Linked DNA regions of Homo sapiens: region 1 is linked to region 2. Evidence: promoter capture Hi-C in 16 types of primary human blood cells and fetal thymus (Javierre and others, 2016). All regions are on one chromosome and are shown on one strand. Each heading gives the region's core, a stretch centred on a gene start or on the middle of the fragment in contact. The rest is flanking DNA. Distances are from core to core; before and after follow the strand shown.

Region 1 (5,830 bases), core at 226-2,725, 270 kb after region 2:
GCCTGCCTCGGCCTCCCAAAGTGCTGGGATTGCAAGCGTGAGCCACTGCGCCCGGCCGACTCACTCCTGTTATGAGGGCCTAGTCTAGCACCCACTCTAGAATTTTGAAACCTCATTGATAGCTTTTCCTTGCCCCAAAGCACACATCCAGGACTGCCAAACAGGGCAACCCAAAACTTCTCTCAGAGCTTCCTCCAGCCCAGGGGCAGCTGTCCCCAGCTGGGCGGACCCAAAGATGGACAACAGAGGAGACTGGGAACAAAGAGGTCTAGTCCAGGTCACTCTGCAGGGCCACAGTGGGTGGCCCTTAGGATGTAGTGAGAGTACAGAATTGGGAGCCCTAGAGTGCTGTAAGCAAAAGGGAGAGCAATGTACAAAGTTTCAAAAGTTTCAAACCTTCCAAGTGCAAAGAGATGAGGTGGAGAATGTCATTCCCCAAGGAAAGTAATCGAGTATAAATATTTACCGGGTGCCTATTTTTTTTTTAACCGAAGTGAGAGCAAGACCTTAAGAGTAAGGATATGTGTAGGTGAGTGGGGGCAGTGTTCTAACCCATCCACTAGCTTTAGAACTTGGAGCAGGGGCAGAGGAAGAAAACTCCAAAAGGTGACAAGTTTTGAAATTTGTGCAGGGGTGACGGTTTTTGGTAAGGCGAGCGAGGCTGGGCGCAGAGCAAATTCTGTCTACTTCTACCTCCTCCGCGGTGGGGTTGCTGAAGTGGGAATTCAAACTCAGCTTCCCAATCTTAAATGCAAGGTTTTTGTTTGGTTGGTTGTTTGGTTTTGTTTTTCCTTTTCACGGACTGTTCATTCCGAACACCCCTGGCCTGGGACCTGGAGCCTCATCCCTGATTCGCTTCCCTCGAATTCCTTAATGTCCACTTCTGGCTCTCCCAGTCCCTGTGCAAGGTGGGCACACCGGCCCCTTCCCAGCAATCCGCTCCGTGTCTATACTTTCTGAATCAACCAAGAGCCACAAAACTTTTCCTGCTTCTCTCCTCCCCAGTCTCCCGGTTCTGGCTGCAACTTCGCACTCCGCGCCTCTGGCAACCAGAAGAGACCCTGGCATCTCCAAAGCGCTTTATCTCAGTCCATTGGAACCAGTCGTGCTGACCGATTCACACCTCGGCTAACGCACACTCGCGGGGGTGATGGCCTTCCCTTCCCCTCCCACCCCCGTCAGCTCCCAGGTGAGGCGCTGGCCCCGGGGGGAAGCAGCTGTGGGCGGCAGTGCGTGGGTTGGGCAGGGGTCCCTTCCCTCCGTGAGACTCTGCTCTGCTGTTCAGCCTCCCAGAAAGCCTCCACCCTCCCCGCGGCGAAGCCAAGCGGCCGCGGCGCGCGGGCGGTACTCACGCAGCAAACTCAGCAAGCAAAGCGCGGTCCAGCCCCGCGGCATCCTGGGCCCTGCGCGCGCGCCCCTGCGGACCAGCATCCTTCCCGCGCGGCTCCTAGAGAGACGCACCGAGTGGAAGACACTACTCGGCTTGGCCAGGACGCGCTCTTCCCGCCCCCTCCGCCCGGGAGAGGGGTGGGGGATTCTTGCTTTTTTCCTCTCTTCTCCCCTCCCTTTTTAGTCTTGGCAAGGCAGCGCCTCTCCTTGGCTGCTACTAACTTGAGCTCCCCTGGTTGGTCCCAAAGGCGGAGGGCGTTAGGAGGGAGGCTGGGTTGCCGCCGTCGAGGCCAAAAAAGGTGGAGGTTTGTTCGGGCTCCAGATGCCTCGTTCAGCTTTCTGGAGAGGCCCCATCCCACTTCTTCAAGCTCCACTTCCACTTAACTTTTAACCCCTTTGTGGCAGCCTTGCCGGTGGCCAGGGCAGGGGCAAGTTTCCTCCGATTTTTTCCCCACTTTTCTTTCCTTGTGATTTTCCTTTATTTTTAAGTTGTAAGCCAGTAACAATCTTGCAAAAGGAATCTACTGTAAGGACCTCAGTTTAGAAGTGTGAGCATTTCGTTAATCAGGTAAAACTTAACCACAATGTGGCACATTTAGTGATAGCCTCACCAGATCCTGTGCTGTGTGTGAGTGAAGCGTCAGGAGTGAGCAGGTATACGTGACTATAAGTATTCATTTTGGCTGTCCAAACCATTCTTGGAGACTTTTTCTTTCTTTTCTTTTCTTTTTTTTTTCCTGCAAGACCTTTTTGTGTTATGTTAACTTTTTGCTAACTTGTGTTAACTTTTCCTGTGACCTTCCATATTTCCCCATTTAGTTCCCCATCACCATCATCCTAAAGAAAAAGGACTTCCCTGGATGCCTTCTCACCAGTTATCCCCTCTCCAGCCCTGGGTCTAAGCCACTAGGGATTTCACCTTGCTCTCCCATCAGAAAAAGGACTTTCTGTGACTCCATCCTCCACCACTTGATAGATCCTTGAGCTTCCTGTTCCTCACCAGTTCCTCTGGGTGTTGGTTGTACTGAATAGAAGAAACTCTGAGCCGGGTAGGCAGCCTAGTCTTGGGGACGTAGAGACGGGAGAAAGGAGAAGCCAGCCTGGGCAGATGATGGCACCAGGGGAGGATCAGATAAGGTATAACCTGGGAGAGGCTGCTCTGATATCCAGAGCAGAATCATGAAATTATAAATACTCAGTTCAGGCTCTTCCATGATGTCTGTACCACATAGCCTAAAGGGAAAAAAGAGAAGCCAGACCAGCACTCTGTGGTCCTTTCTGATTTCTCCGCAGACACTCTAGCATTATAAAAGTAGCTTTACCTTTATAGTCCATCTCAAACCTACTATGCGTTGGGGTTGCACAGGAGAAGGATCCAGGTCTAAAAACAAACCCAAAATCTCCTTATTCTGGTCTTGTTGCCTAGCATTCCTTTAAACAGGGAACAAAGTCTTTCATCACACAATAAGAGCAAAGGCCTGATATGCTAATTTGATTGAATACAACGGAATGGTATGAATCTGTTTCAAAGTACAAATGATGATTCAGAACTGATCACATAGTGATGGCAAGGGCCTGGGGACAGAAGGAGTGGCAAACATGCATTTTAAAATCAGTCATTGGTCCTTGGGACTCCCAATTAACAGGGAAAAGGAGTTAGTTCCAACACTGCCAGGCCCCCCACTCCCCTCAACTTCCTCAGCTCCAGGGACCGCTCGGTCTGCTTCAGGCATCCAGTGTGCAGTTGAGAACAAATGTGGGGTTGTAATCCCTGCTAGATATGAAAGCTAATTTGGTCCACTTTAACTTCCATTTCCAGATTTTTTTTTTCTGGTTACTTTAAATACCATTTGTCTCCCATAGCTGGACCACGGGAAACAGGGGAAATAACTTGTCTTTCTTTAGTACCTGAACTTCTTAACTAGCTTTGGGAGCAAAGAGAGAGAGAATGATTCTGTGGAGCAGAGTTTTCTCAAAGCATGGTCTACACAGAATCAAGGGTGAGGGCCAGAATCTGTACTTTGAGTAAGTATTCTCCATGACTCATGCACACTGAGGTTCAAGAAGCCCTGGTATAGAAAGAACACTTGCTGGGTACAAGGAGCAAGGGCGAAGTGGATGTCAGGCTTCAGGGAGGAAAAATAGAAGTAGGGGATATGGGAGGCTGGCAAATCCCTTCCTCTGAGAGACCAGAGCTGTTTCTTCTCTGGCTTGCAAAGGTTATGGATAGCCCCAGAACTACAAAGCTAGACAGTGATTGGCCACTCTTCATATTTTCCAGGGTCACTGAGACTCATCACCCCAAGCACACACACCCTTGCCCAAGCCACCCCCAAACACACGTTCTGGCCACTGGACACAAGGGTACCCAGGGACCCCAGCCTTACATTTCCTCACAGGCCAGGTAGAGTTGAGCTATGTAGTCTCTTCAAAGTTCTAGCCTTTCTGGGCTGCTCCTCAATTCTCTGCTCTCCTGCTTCATAAGCTGTTGCTAGAAGATGTTAGCTACACCGCACAAAATGGAGGATACAACAGAAATACACTGAGTCAGAGGCTGTCTCAGGCCCTTTACAGACCCTTGGAGGTCACAACCACTTTTACTATTAAACATCCCTTACCTCACCCCTCCCCAAAATACACACGCATCATGTCAATCAACCTAAAAGAGGACCTCATCCTATGTCAAATATGTCTGATGTTAAAAAAGTAAGGAAAATGGTTGTTATAATTCTGAATTTTAAAATATATTCATTTTGTTCTTATAATTCAAACTTTATTATATTTACATGAAACTATGAAAGAGTTGAATTGCAGTTTACAAGTTGAGTTGACATTTTTGTAGGCATTTAATGAAAAATTTGTGAATTTTGATTTTCCAATTTTATATTTTGGAACCAAGACTTTTTTCCCACATTGCAAACTTTTTTTTTTTTTTTTTTTTCAGTTTGGCAGGGATCCTTAGCGGTAGAAGTGTTCAGATGCTGGACTGATGCAGTGACAACCTGCAAGTCCCTTTTTTCCTCTTTCCACCTTCTAGTCTCCCTCCAGTGCCTCCTCTTGGCAGAACCTAACAAGAAATCAGCTGACAAGGGAGTCTGGGAACCAGTGTCCTGTGGTAAGTCACCATGATGCAATGTTTGCCTCCATGATAGGCAGGCTATTCCAGAGGCCACAGATCAGGAAGACTCAGACCAAATTATGATGATCAAATCACAAGGGTTATGGAATCTATTTAAAGCATAGAGCCAGAACCAAGGGGACAGATTTACACAAGGTTGATACACTTGGGAATGCAAGCAGGGCAAAAGTCCTGCACAGTCTCACAGCCTCAGTCATGTGTTTCGCTCTGCAGTGGTATAGTTATGAGGACCAGAACTGAGATTGAGTAAGGGGATCAATATGAGGAAGATGCTTAGAACCAAGGTATACTCATTCTATTGAGAGATGTTTAAGGGTAGGTAGGCTTGGCCACAGGTCTTTGTCAGTGTTCTGGGAAGCCATACTTTTTGCCAGTATTTCTTGGGTAGAGCTTATGGGGGGCCAGAAGGTGCCACCAGTAGGTAGTCAATTTAGGGATGACATGGACACCAGCCAGAAGGTGGCATAATCTATACCTCATGGCTTATGATTTGTTTTTTCCTATCCTTTTCTGCCTGTAAGTAGCACTCTTGTTTGTTCCATCCTTTTGTAGTCTATTCCATTTATTCTGTTTTACATGTCTTGCAGGTTACTAACTTACTATAGATTGAGAATCCCAAGTCTGAAATTTGAAATGCTCCAAATTCTGAAACTTTTCGAGTACTGACATGGCACTCAAAGGAAATGCTCATTGAGGCATTTTGGATTTCAGATTTCTGGAATGGGGTGCTCAACATATAAGTGTAATGCAAGTATTCCAAAATCCAAAAAGTATCCCGGATAAGGGATACTCCATCCTGCATTTTTAGCACATCTTCTGAATTCTGCCTATGTCTCACAAATGACTTGCTTACTTTGTATCTATAGTTAATACATCTGATGAGTTTCACCCACCTGCTTTTCTTGTCCTCTGTATGAAACTGAATATTCTCATGTAACAGAGCAAACACACATTGTAGCCAGTATTATAGAGAAAAGTACAGAGGAGTAGGTTGGGGCTGAGGGAGACAAAATAAATAACTAGCAGAAAACCAGTTTTATGTATTTTTCATACAGCTAACCATTTTCCTAGTTGCATTTACTGAGTAGTCTCTTCTTTCCCTTCTGACCTGACATGCCATTTCTGTCGTGTTCCACATTTCATACGTATGTGGGTCTGGCTCTAGGCTCTCTAGCATTGGTCAGTATGGACACCCCAAGTGCCTTCGCCATTGCCTTATTTACTGTAGCATTAAATAAGTTCAGACATCTGTAGGGCAAGTTTTCCTCTCCCAAATTGTCTTCAGAAATGCCCTGACTATTC
Region 2 (5,899 bases), core at 445-2,944:
TAATTACTGTCATAGAGTGTCTGAATTTTATAATCCAAGATACTAAGATGTTTATTTGATATACCACCAGACTCAATGTCTTGTATTCTATGCCAAAAATTTGAAAATGTTTGGGAAGAGGAAATTCCGTGGTTTGGTGAACCCAGAAAGTCTTCAGTACATCTCAGTTATAGAACTGTATTAAATACATTTAAACTCTATAATTCCATAAGACCCATTTTAGGTTTATACACTAAGCATCTAATTCCTCACTATCCTCTCATACAAACCCTGTGTAATACAAGTTCTACTCCCATAATTCTATGAACAAAACAACAATTGATACATAGATTTGATTTTTAAAATACATTTTCTTTACCTTATTCTAAATGTAACATAGGGTCAACATAGAAAAAGAAAACTGAAAAGCACAAGGAAAGTGAAATATCTATAATCTTAACCATTGTTAATTTTGTTGTGTTCCAAATTAGTGTATGTATATATATATATATATATATAGCATTTTTGTTTTAATAAAAGGACTGCCAAAATGCACATGCCAATTTGGACTCTGCTTTTTCCACTTACAATGATATCATAGTTTCTCACATTTGGTATTCTTTTGCAATACTTGCTGCATAGAATTCCATCACACAAAGGTAACTGCCTCCTTATTACTTTTGCTAGACACTTAGGGTTTACATTTTTTACAAAAATTATAAATCTTTGATCACAGCTCTGATGATTTCTCTGGGAACTGAGAGCCTAACACAAGTCATTTCCACTTTAAGACTTTTAACATTCTGAAAAGTTATGTTACAAACAGAGTGCTGGTCCCCCTGCAACATGTTCACTCACATTGGCTGACGTTTTAATTCTTTGCCAATCTGAGGGGAAGAGATGTCAACTTTTTTTGTTTGCTCTTTTAATGCCAGTCATGTTCCCTTTTTTTTTCCCCCTTTTACCAGTCATACTGGCTTACTCAGAACCCTACAAATCAATCCTGCTCATTCTTAATTTTCCAACATTGTTCCTGAGATTGTTTCACCAGAAAAGTTCTCCCCCTTATCCACTTCGCCTAACAATTTCTACCCATCCCAATCCTCCTGCATTTATTGCTTCCAGGAATTTGGCACTTAGGACACCCTTGTCCTTACATTGTTCATGCATGTATATTTCGTCTTCAATAAAACATTTAGTTGCTCAAGGGCAAGGGTCCCATAGAGTCTCAATATGCTAACGGCCTGGTGTTGCTTAATAATTTAGATTCTGACGGGTCCTCTCCAGGGAGGGGAGCAAAGGGCAAATTATCTTAGGGGCTGGGAGTGCAGAAGCCAAACCTTTGAGACTGTGAAAAGAAGACGGCGCCGAGACGATTCAGTAGCAGGCATTCAAGCAAGAAAAACTCAAATATTGTTCCCAATAATGCCTGACTAATGCCAAATACCAAGTAAGGGCCCAGGCAGTCCTGACAGCCTGCAGTGCCCCAGGATAAAACTAACCCTGAGGGGTGCTAGCCCACGATAACCCCCTGCCAGGGCTCTGGACACGCCCTGTCTCCTCGAAGGCCAACGGGCTGCCCCTGCGCGCCGAGGCCCCGCCCCGCGGCCCGCCGATTGGCCCCAGCCGCCCCGGCGCTAAGACTCAATTTCACACTACGCGCCCAGGCCACGCCCACCTGTCATGCGGCCCTGGAAACTGTGAGTTTGGGGATTGTTGTGTCCACTAACCGGACTCAGAAGGGACTTCCCTGCTCGGCTGGCTTTCGGTTTCTCTGCTCACCTCCGGATAAATCACGGGGTCTCCCGCGCCGCTCATGGCGCCTCCCGTCCGTCTCGAGCGTCCCTTTCCTTCCCGGCGCTTTCCTGGGTTGCTTCTGGCGGCCCTGGTGTTGCTGCTGTCCTCCTTCTCCGGTAGGACCCCGGGGTGGATTCGCGCGTCCGCGGCGAGGCTAGAGCTCTGCTCAGTCAGTCGGGCAGGAGGCGCGGGGCGAAGCTCACTGCACGTCGTGCCTGCTTGGGATAGAGAGCGAGGCCAGGGTTCTCCGAGGGGTGCCGTGCTCAGATCCCGGGGGTATGTGGCGGGGGATGCGGGAACCACGCAGAAGCTTGTTTGGTGGCATCGTGTGCGCGGCCGACATTTACGCAGGATCTGGCTGCGTTCCCAAAAGAAGCGTGAATCGTGTTTTCGGGATTGAGCCCAGTCAGCAAGGGGAGGGCTTACTGGGCGCCCCAGGTGAGGGCTTGCTCTGGAGTGCACAGGTGCGTGGGATTGTTGCTAGAGCCCGTGCTGTGCCCGTGGTGAGAGTTTGCCCTGTGTTCCCTTGGTGCCTTGGTGAGTAGGGTGTTCATTAGGGCTTGGACAGTACCCGCGGTAAGGGTTGCAGTGCGTCTGCTGTGCCCCATGGGCTGGGCTGGCCTGGGCTGGGCTGGGCGAGCAGGGGCCTGGCCAGGTGTTGCTGGGAGCGTGCTGTGCGCAAGTGGCCTGTGTGCGGAGTTCACTGTGGGCAAGACAGCTCACTGTTTGCTTTGAGTGGAGCGAGCGCGGACTCTGCGGCTAGGGAGGGCATGTTGAGTGAGAGCAGGCTCTCAGTGCCTGGGGTTAGAGAGGTGGTAAGGGCGCACCATGCTTTTAGTGCCTTCTGTGAACAGTGTCCGTGTTGCCTGAGATCGTATTGGTCTTGAATTTTAAGTGGCTGCTTTTTTGGGGGGTGGGTGGGCCATCGAGTCATCTTCCTGTTCCCAACCAATATAGACAGTATCTGATTCCATTGCCTAGTGGCTTTTTGACATTGTTTTCCTTCTTTTCATTAGTTTGAGTCATATTTGAGAGATGTGAAGCAACCTAAAAAACACTGGTAGCCAAACCTAGTGAGAAATTAGTATCCTAACAAAGGAAGGCAGATAATGTTAATCTTGTTTTCCCCTACAGCTCATAAACTGAAGCTTAAGGCCTATCCCACTGTTTTGTATTTCATTGAATGGAATCAATATTTTTAAAAATGCATGCTAGGCCAGGCCCAGTTGCTCACACCTGTGATCCCAGCACTTTGGGAGGCCCAAGTTGGGTGATTGCTTAAGCCCAGGAGTTCAAGATCAGCCTGGACAACATGTCAAAACCCCATGTCTACAAAAAATAAAAAAATTAGATGGGCATGGTGGTGTATGCCCGTGGTCCCAACTACTCCAGAGGCTGAGGTGGGAGGATCGCTTGAGCCCAGGAGGAGAAGACTGCAGTGAGCTGTGATCATGCCACTGCACTCCAGCCTGGATGACAGTGTGAGACCCTGTCTCAAAAAAAAAAAAAAAAAAAAAAAAAGCCAAAAAATACATGCTTAAATACAGGCTTATTGTGCAAAATGAACAAAATAAAAGGACAACTGTTTTTAATATTTTGTTATATTTCCTTCTGACTTTATTGTGTTTCATGTGTATCTATGTCCAAATTATATTTAGGATCTTATTCCATGTACAGATTGTACGTTGCATTTCTTCTCTTAGGAACATTCATTCAACAAATATGGGTCTTGTATGTCTGGTGCTGTTACACTAGTAGGTAATAACAGACAATTCCTATTTTCTTTATCCTTTTTTTACTATTTGTTTACACACACGTACATGCAGGAAGATAAGCAGGGACTTTTTTTGCTCATTGTTAAGTGCTTAATGCCGGGAACACAGTAGGCAATCAACAGATGTTTGCTAAAATGTATTGGGAGTGGCAGACATTAACCAAAACATAATAGTAACAAATATATTAACCAGGGAAGTGTTCTGGAGGAAAGGAGTATAATTTTCTGACAGCATTTAACAAATGACTGGGGGGAGGGAAGGCTTTGCTTCTCATCAAACAGACAAAACTCTGCCACTTTGGGGCATCTGTGCTTTCTGTTCCCTCAGTCCTGGAACGTTCTCCCCATGACCTGCTGCATAAATGGGCTGTTTCTTCTGCAAGCTCAGCTGGAATGTTACCGCTTCAGAGACCTTCTTGGAACCCCCCAACTCAGGTTGAACACATACAACCCAGTTCAAGTACCTCTTGTAATCACCCTTTTAAAGTGATCTTTTCTGTTCTCTGTCTCTCCCCATCAGAATGCAGGAATCTTCTGTCTTCCCCCATTTGTGGTTCCAAAAGCCCCATTTGTTTGCTTCTGTATGAACCCTAACTCAGTATCCATATAGACATCTGTTAAATATCAGAAAATTAAATATACTATTTGGCTGGGGCTTAGAGCCTAGGAAAAAGTCCCTCCTGCCTCCAAGAGGAAGGTTCTTTAAAGAGCTATGCTCAGGATGGTCTTTCTGTTGTACCTAAAAAGCTAGGGCAGCAGCAGCTGAGGGCCAGAAAGGATCTGTCTCCCCTGTTTATGTTGACTCTGCAGGGCTTCCAGTACTTCAGTCTTGCATCTCACTGATCATTAAAACGTTCATTTTGAAGGAGGGTGATGGGATTAGGGAGCAGTGGTGTTAAGAAGAAAACGAAAGGACTTTTTTTTCTTTTTAAAGATTAATGTTTAGAATAGGCTTAGTACTAGAAGTACATACAGCCTGGGCATCATAAGGAGAGCCCACCTCTACAGAATATTAAAAACAAAAAATTAGCCAGGTGTGATGTTGCATGCCTGTGGTCCCAGCTACTTGGGAGGCTGAAGGGCGTGAAGGGGGAGGATCACTGGAGCCCCCATGGTCAAGGCTGCAGTGAGCCCTAATCATACCACTGCACTCCAGCTTGGGTGACAGAGTGAGACCCGGTCTCAAACACACACACACACACACACACACACACACAGACACACACACACACACAGAAAAAAAAAAAAAACCTGGAAGTTGAAGAAGATAATGAAAGCAATTTGAAATAGAGGAACATAGAATTATAAAATGAATAGGGTGCAACATGGAAGATAACAAAACTAAAAATGAAGAGAAGGAAAAATAAGGTTAAGTTTGAGGTTGATAGGGTTAAATCAAGACAGGTATGAAACCTAGAGAAAGTAAAAATGAGAACTCACGATGCTAGGCAGAGAGAATACATGAATTAAAATAAACATTCAATTTTTGGAGCAACTCACTCTCACAAAGATAAGGTTTTGTAAGCAGGTGGTGCTGTGCATGGGAGACCTGCCCTCTCAAAGGTAGTTGCCAAATGGTTCCAGATAGCAGAAGGAAACATGTGTCAAATTTCAGGCCAGTCTCATTCATTCCTCCAGAAGAGGAGCTGCTTTTTTGGACAAAACCCCCGATCTCCTGTTGTGTGTGGTCTCTTCTGCCTATTTCAGGTGTTTTCCTTATTTTCAATGAAAGAAGCCAAGACCAGTAAGTTCTTATTGCTTCTTAGTTTCCTCACTCGGCATACTACAATGCAAAAAGAGCAGTCCATATCTGGTCACCTGCCAGGATACCAGAAGACTGGGAGATAGGCAGCACAAGAAATGGCTAAATCTTCTTTCTCCATTGTTCTGTAGAATGATTATTTTCAATATGAAATTGATTACAATATATTCTTCACATTGTTTTGTGTTTGACAGCAGTGGACTTTGAGTACCAAATTTTTTTCAAATAGCTACTATGAGGGACATATTGTGCTGGGTGTTGTGGCCACATGGATGAATGGAGTCGGCCTTGTTAACTATTAAACTCAAAAACACGTGATAATTACCTGAGAGATCCATGCAGGGGAGAGTCCAGGGGAAGGTGACTGATCACTGCTTCCCAGGGGGAGGCAGAAAATGCTTCTTGGAGGAGATGATGGGTGGATTAAAGAAGACAAGAGCTGAGCAGGAGTTGTAGCTACCGGCCAGGGAGGAAGGGTATTCAGAGCAGAGGAAGCAAGGTGAGCAAAGGCACCAAGATGTGACACTGCTGGACTGCCAAGCTATTCAGTGTGGCAGAGTAGGGTAAAGGAGACAACAAAGAAGGGA

Evidence for each region. Contacts are between HindIII fragments. The CHiCAGO score rates a contact against its expected background, and 5 or more counts as called.
Region 1: the fragment with the promoter of CD34 here is called in contact with the fragment with the promoter of CR1L in region 2 in 13 of 17 cell types (neutrophils, non-activated CD4 T cells, total CD4 T cells and 10 more); the score reaches 23.2 in neutrophils.

Annotation. Positions count from the first base shown.
Region 1 is chr1:207,909,650-207,915,479 of GRCh38, forward strand. CD34 (CD34 molecule) reads right to left here and starts at 1,476. Exons shown (of 8, transcript NM_001025109.2): 1 at 1,353-1,476. The coding sequence starts at 1,431. LOC107985253 (a long non-coding RNA gene) reads left to right here and starts at 719. Exons shown (of 4, transcript XR_001738424.2): 1 at 719-908; 2 at 1,006-1,189; 3 at 4,334-4,504. The HindIII fragment of the contact is 7,449 bases long and covers 1-5,830 here.
Region 2 is chr1:207,643,439-207,649,337 of GRCh38, forward strand. CR1L (complement C3b/C4b receptor 1 like) reads left to right here and starts at 1,695. Exons shown (of 12, transcript NM_175710.2): 1 at 1,695-1,892. The coding sequence starts at 1,796. It also overlaps the pseudogene CD46P1. RefSeq lists a silencer at 1,495-1,664 and an enhancer at 1,725-1,804. The HindIII fragment of the contact is 2,525 bases long and covers 1-2,084 here.